2 separate regions of the Homo sapiens genome follow, and region 2 is linked to region 1. Evidence: promoter capture Hi-C in 16 types of primary human blood cells and fetal thymus (Javierre and others, 2016). All regions are on one chromosome and are shown on one strand. The core of a region is centred on a gene start or on the middle of the fragment in contact, and the rest is flanking DNA. Distances in the headings are between cores, read along the strand shown. Region 1 holds the start of GADD45GIP1 (GADD45G interacting protein 1). Region 2 holds the start of KLF1 (KLF transcription factor 1).

What was found. Contacts are between HindIII fragments. The CHiCAGO score rates a contact against its expected background, and 5 or more counts as called.
Region 2: a contact is called between the fragment with the promoter of KLF1 here and the fragment with the promoter of GADD45GIP1 in region 1, in 1 of 17 cell types (erythroblasts). The highest score is 5.9, in erythroblasts.

What each region holds. Positions count from the first base shown.
Region 1 is chr19:12,955,775-12,959,034 of GRCh38, reverse strand. It overlaps GADD45GIP1 (GADD45G interacting protein 1), which reads left to right and starts at 1,812. Exons shown (of 2, transcript NM_052850.4): 1 at 1,812-2,172. The coding sequence starts at 1,823. RefSeq lists a silencer at 1,866-2,035 and enhancers at 1,464-2,336, 2,436-2,485. The HindIII fragment of the contact is 49,128 bases long and covers 1-3,260 here.
Region 2 is chr19:12,885,581-12,888,840 of GRCh38, reverse strand. It overlaps KLF1 (KLF transcription factor 1), which reads left to right and starts at 1,640. Exons shown (of 3, transcript NM_006563.5): 1 at 1,640-1,787; 2 at 2,699-3,260. The coding sequence starts at 1,701. RefSeq lists enhancers at 998-1,336, 1,445-1,785, 2,349-2,610, a promoter at 688-1,706, a cis regulatory region at 910-2,750 and a silencer at 2,958-3,217. The HindIII fragment of the contact is 12,769 bases long and covers 1-3,260 here.

The sequences.
Region 1 (3,260 bases), core at 563-3,062:
TAAATGCTAGTGGGCTTTTTGTCTGTTTGTTTGTTCAGACAGAGTCTCACTCTGTCACCCTGGGTAGAGTGCAATGGCACGATCTCAGCTCATTGCAACCTCCACCTCCCAGGTTCAAGCGATTCTCCTGCCTCAGCCTCCTGAGTAGTTGGGATTACAGGCGCCCACCACCACGCCCAGGTAATTTTTGTATTTTTAGTAGAGACAAGGTTTTGCCATGTTGGTCAGGCTGGTCTCCAACTCCTGACCTCAAGTGATCCGCCCGCTTCAGCCTCCCAAAGTACTGGGATTACAGGCGTGAGCCACCAAGCCCAGCCTAATAAATGCTAGTTTAAATGTATAAAAGTAAAGTTAAAAATATAATTTTTACGCAGCCATAAAAAATGATGAGTTCGTGTCCTTTGTAGGGACATGGATGAAACTGGAAACCATCATTCTCAGCAAACTATCGCAAGGACAAAAAACCAAACACCGCATGTTCTCACTCATAGGTGGGAAGTGAACAATGAGACCACATGGACACAGGAAAGGGAACATCACACACCGGGGACTGTTGTGGGGTGGGGGGAGGGGGGAGGGATAGCATTAGGAGATATACCTAATGCTAAATGACGAGTTAATGGGTGCAGCACACCAACATGGCACATGTATACATATGTAACAAACCTGCACGTTGTGCACAAGTACCCTAAAACTTAAAGTATAATAATAATAAAATAAAATAAAATAAACTTTTTGAAGGCAAAAAAAAAAAAAAAAGAATAGCATGGGGGAAACCACCCCCGTGATCCAACCACCTCCCTTCCCCGACATGTGGGGATTACAGGTCCCTCCCTGGACACATGGGGATTATAATTCAGGATGAGATTTGGTTGGGGACACAGAGCCAAACCATATCAGTGGCCCTGCCACAGCCTCTTATTTTTGATTTTTCAATGTGTTCATTCAACATGATTTCAGATTATTCATTGGAGGGCTACTGTGTGCACAGAAGACACATGGATGAATAAAACAGTATGGTTTCTGATATGCAAAAAACAAAAATACAATTTTTACCCAAAGAACACTGAACACTTAGAAAAAAATACACAAATATATATTTGTAGCCAGGTGAGCGTATATATATATGTATATGTGTGTGTGTGTGTATGCATGTATGTATTTATTTTTATTTATTAATTTTTTAGACGGAGTTTCGCTCTTGTTACCCAGGCTGGAATGCAATGGCACGATCTCGGCCCACCCCAACCTCCGCCTCCCGGGTTCAAGCGATTCTCCTGCCTCAGCCTCCCGCGGAGCTGGGACTACAGGCATGCGCCACCATGCCCGGCTAATTTTGTATTTTTAGTAGAGACGGGGTTTCTCCTCTCCTCCCGGAAGGCGGAGGTTACAGTGACCCGAGATCACGCCGTTACCCTCCAGCCTGGGCGACAGAGCGAGACTCTGTCTCGAAAAAAAAAAAAAAAAAAGACTGGTCTCGAACTCGCGACCTCAGGTGATCCGCCCGCCTCGGCCTCCCAAAGTGCTGAGATTACAGGCGTGAGCCACCGCGCCCGACAAAAATATGTATTTTTAAGTGTCAGTGTGCAGAAAGGAGAAGAAAAAAAGTGAAAATTAAAAATGACTTTAATCAGTAACTGCTTAACTAAAATTTAAAGTTATACTTGGAAACGTATAAAACCCATACTATCCCCTTCGCCGCCCTCCCCCGAACTGAGGCAGCAGGGACACCCCTCGCCCTGCCCTGGCCCACACCGGGCCTCGCGCTCAGGCACCGGGCATGGACAGCCCGGCGGGCCTGTGAGGACCCCGCACAGCCAAGATGGCGGCGTCCGTGCGACAGGCACGCAGCCTACTAGGTGTGGCGGCGACCCTGGCCCCGGGTTCCCGTGGCTACCGGGCGCGGCCGCCCCCGCGCCGCAGGCCGGGACCCCGGTGGCCAGACCCCGAGGACCTCCTGACCCCGCGGTGGCAGCTGGGACCGCGCTACGCGGCTAAGCAGTTCGCGCGTTACGGCGCCGCCTCCGGGGTGGTCCCCGGTTCGTTATGGCCGTCGCCGGAGCAGCTGCGGGAGCTGGAGGCCGAAGAACGCGAATGGTACCCGAGCCTGGCGACCATGCAGGAGTCGCTGCGGGTGAAGCAGCTGGCCGAAGAGCAGAAGCGTCGGGAGAGGTGCGTGCGTGCAGGCAGACGCGGGGCTGCCCTCTGTGCCCCGTGGGCGAACTGGGCCCCAAACCGTGCCTACCCCTTCGGGGTCACGTCGCAGCATCTGCATGTTGTAGATTTATGTATACGCTCACCTGGCCGCAAAACAAACTCAGAATAACGTCCATTTAGTCATTCATCAGCAAGTTTTGTTTGTTTGTTTGTTTGTTTTTTGGAGACAAGAGTCTCGCTCTGTTGCCCAGGCTGGAGTGCAGTCGCAAGATCTTGGCTCACTGCAACCTCCGCCTCCCCGGTTCAAGCGATTCTCCCGCCTTAGCCTCCGGTGTAGCTGGGATTACAGGCGTGCACCACCACGCCCGGCAAATTTTTGTAGTTTTAGTAGAGACGGGGTTCCACCATGTTGGCCAGGCTGGTCTCAAACTCCTTACTTCAAGTGATCCACCTGCCTCAGCCTCCCAAAGTGCCGGGATTACAGGTGTGAGCCATCACGTCCGGCCATCACCACCAAGTCTTTACTGAGCGCATACCGTGTGCAAGACCCTGTCCCAGGCCGGGGGCGGTGGCTCGTGCCTGTAATCCCAGTTATTTGGGAGGCCGAGGCAGGCCCCAAAAGGGCCCTTAATATCAGATGGCGACAGCTGACAGGCAAGATAATACCAATGGTGACAGCCGACTAGTAGGAAGGTAAAAGAGTGAAGAGTGTGTGCCTGAGGGCAGCTTTGGTTTGGGAAGCCTCAGGCCTCTCTGAGGAGGTGATGTTTAAGCAAAGACCTGAATAACCAGACTTAGCTATGGGGCGATCTCTTGGGTAGAAAGTTTCTGGTAAAGGGAACAGCTGGGGCAAATGCCCTGAGATACGATATGCCTTAAAGAACAGCCAGGAAGCCAGTGTGGCTGGGGAAAAGGTGAGGGCAGGAAGGTGATGGGTCCTGGAACCAAGAGGGCAGAGGTCAGATACAGAGGCAGGTCTGAAGGACCAGGGGCATCTTTTTGTTGTTGTTGTTGTTGTTGTTTTGAGGCAGAGTTTTGCTCTTGTTGCCCAGGCTGGAGTGCAATCTCAGCTCACTGCAACCTCTGCCTCCCAGGATCAAGAG
Region 2 (3,260 bases), core at 391-2,890, 70 kb after region 1:
CGGGTACCTGGGATTAGAGGTGTATGCCACCATCCCCGGCCTATTTTTATATTTTTAGTAGACAGGGTTTCACTGTGTTGGCCAGGTTTGTCTCGAACTCCTGGCCTCAGGTGATCTGCCTGCCTCGGCCTCCCAAAGTGCTGGGATTACTAGCGTGAGCTACTGCGCCTGGCCCCATGCCTCCAAGTTTCAACCAGTTCTCCAGCTCAGCCTCCCAAATAGCTGGGATTACAAGCATGTGCCACAATGCCCAGCTAATTTTTGTATTTTTAGCAGAGAGAGGGCTTCATCCTGTTGGCCAGTCTGGTCTCGAACTCCTGACCTCAAGTGATCTCCCCACCTTGGCTTCCCAAAGTGCTGGGGTTACAGGTGTGAACCACCGCACCTGGCCTTGTTTTTGTTTGTGTCACCCAGGTTGATCTGCCAGGAATAAAGATGGCCACCCAACTTTTTTTTTTTTCCAGCGACAGAGTCTTGCTTTCTGTGCCCCAGGCTGGACTGCAGTGGTGTGATTATAGTTCAGTGCAGTCCCGACCTCCTGGGCTCAGGCAATCCTCCCACCTCAGCCTCCTGAGTAGCTGGGACTATGGGCATGCACCACCACTCACAGCTTTTTGTTGGAGAGATAGGTTTTATGTTGCCCAGGCTGGTCTTGAAATCCTGGTGTCAAGTGATCCTCCTGCCTCAGTCTTCCAATGAGTGACTATGAGTTATGTGTCTGTAATACGTATCCATGTCCCCTTCCCAGGCTCCCAGGGCACCAGAGTGGAGGTTCCTGTTGTAGAAACTCAGATCCTCTCCTCATGTTGGGCAGAATCAAGGAGCAGCCAGGCCCAGAGCCAGGGCACTGGTCTCCTGCAGGTCAGGTACTGCCTGTGGCTTGATCCAACGGTCCTATCCCACCCAGGAGGAGAGAGGGTCACTTTTCCCTTGGCTGCCCCCATCGCACTAAAGCAGCTGGCACTGAACCAGCCTCCATGCAGTCCCATGCAGTGCCACCCAAGGGTCCCCAGTAGACAATGGTGGGCCAGTTGTCAGGGGCTTCCTCCTGCTGCAGGGCTGAGACCCTGGGAGGTCCCAACCCAGGCAAATTGAACGCCAGGCTAATTTGAAGACCCAACTCCCAGCCCTCCCCTTCACCGGAGGACAGAGCTCTAGCTGGCCTGGGCCCCCACCTGATAGCAGCCTCCAACGTCTGGGGTGTCTGATAATGCTTGGCGGGGAGCTCGTGCCAAGTCCCGCCATCAGCACGGTTGTTGCTGTTTACTGGGGAGGGGGAGGGCTGTGGAGCCTCAATCAGGGGGACAGGGGGTCCCACAGCTTCTTCCCAGAATACCCTTTCTGCCTTTTCCAGGAAAGTTAACTGAGGGAAGACCCCCAAGTCTCTCCTTCTTTGGAGACCCAATGTCTGTTTTTACCCAGCACCTGGACCCTCAAACCCTGAACCCCCCAACCCTTGATATTTGACTTGGCTTTGGACACAGGGTTAGTCTTTAACCCCAGCCCCAGACAGGCCAACGTGAAGTTTGTGCCCCAGAAACAGTGCCCCCCCGCCGCCTTGCCTTGCTTTGCCTTATCAGAGGCTGCAGCCAATCAGCTAAGGACAGAGAGGAGCCCTCGAAGGGGCTATCACAGCCTCAGAGTTCACGAGGCAGCCGAGGAAGAGGAGGCTTGAGGCCCAGGGTGGGCACCAGCCAGCCATGGCCACAGCCGAGACCGCCTTGCCCTCCATCAGCACACTGACCGCCCTGGGCCCCTTCCCGGACACACAGGATGACTTCCTCAAGGTGGGGCCTAGAAGGTGGGGTCTAGGTGGGCTGGCTGGAATCCAGGGCCACAGTCACAGATCTTGGGGTCCAGACCTGCATCTTGACCTGAAATCAAGAGACTTAACCAGGACTGAGGTACGCTCAGTCCAGGAGAGGAGATCTCAGCTTAGTCTGGCAGGGGGTGAGGAGGGTGGTCTAGGGGTTTGAGGTTCTAAGTGTGATCTATTTCGGTAATAGAAAACGAAGGTAGCCTGGGCAACATGGTGAAACCCTATCTCTACAAAAAATACCAAAAACATTAGGCCAGGCATGGGGGCGTGTGCCTGTAGTCCCAGGTACTCCGTAGGCTGATGCAGGAGGATCATTAGAGCCCAGGAGATTAAGGATACAGTGAGCTGCACCACTGCACTCCAGCCTGGGCAAAAGAGTAAGACCCTATCTCAAGAAAAAAAAAAAAAAAAAGGAACGAGATCTAGGCTCACAGACAATCTTCCAGATATCAGCGGGAAATGATGAGTGTGTCTGGGGGACATCCAAAATTTCGGAATTAATCTTGTTTTGGGAGACAGGGAAGGAGAGGGATGTTCTGGGGGAAAACTAAGTCAAGGCTGGCATCCTCTCCCCCGTCCCCTGCCAGTTTTCCATCTCCAGCAGCTCTGCTACCCCTTCCCCCATCCCCGAGTGTGGTTCCAGATAGTGGAAGTCTTATCTCCTGTCTCCAGCCAGACCTGATCGGTTTCTGTCCCTGGAGCTGGGGGGGGAGCGGGGAGAGGGGCGGTTAGAGGGGCAGTGTTGGGGAAGTGGGACAGACAGACAGGCAAACAAGACCCCTTTCCAAAGCCTCTGCGTCAGAGTGTCCAGCCCGCGATGTCCCTGGGCAGGGCACCCCAGTGTCCACCGAACCTCGAGCTGCCTGCTCCCTCCCGCAGTGGTGGCGCTCCGAAGAGGCGCAGGACATGGGCCCGGGTCCTCCTGACCCCACGGAGCCGCCCCTCCACGTGAAGTCTGAGGACCAGCCCGGGGAGGAAGAGGACGATGAGAGGGGCGCGGACGCCACCTGGGACCTGGATCTCCTCCTCACCAACTTCTCGGGCCCGGAGCCCGGTGGCGCGCCCCAGACCTGCGCTCTGGCGCCCAGCGAGGCCTCCGGGGCGCAATATCCGCCGCCGCCCGAGACTCTGGGCGCATATGCTGGCGGCCCGGGGCTGGTGGCTGGGCTTTTGGGTTCGGAGGATCACTCGGGTTGGGTGCGCCCTGCCCTGCGAGCCCGGGCTCCCGACGCCTTCGTGGGCCCAGCCCTGGCTCCAGCCCCGGCCCCCGAGCCCAAGGCGCTGGCGCTGCAACCGGTGTACCCGGGGCCCGGCGCCGGCTCCTCGGGTGGCTACTTCCCGCGGACCGGGCTTTCAGTGCCTGCGGCGTCGGGCGCCCCCTACGGGCTACTGTCCGGGTACCCCGCGATGTACCCGGCGCCTCAGTACCAAGGGCACTTCC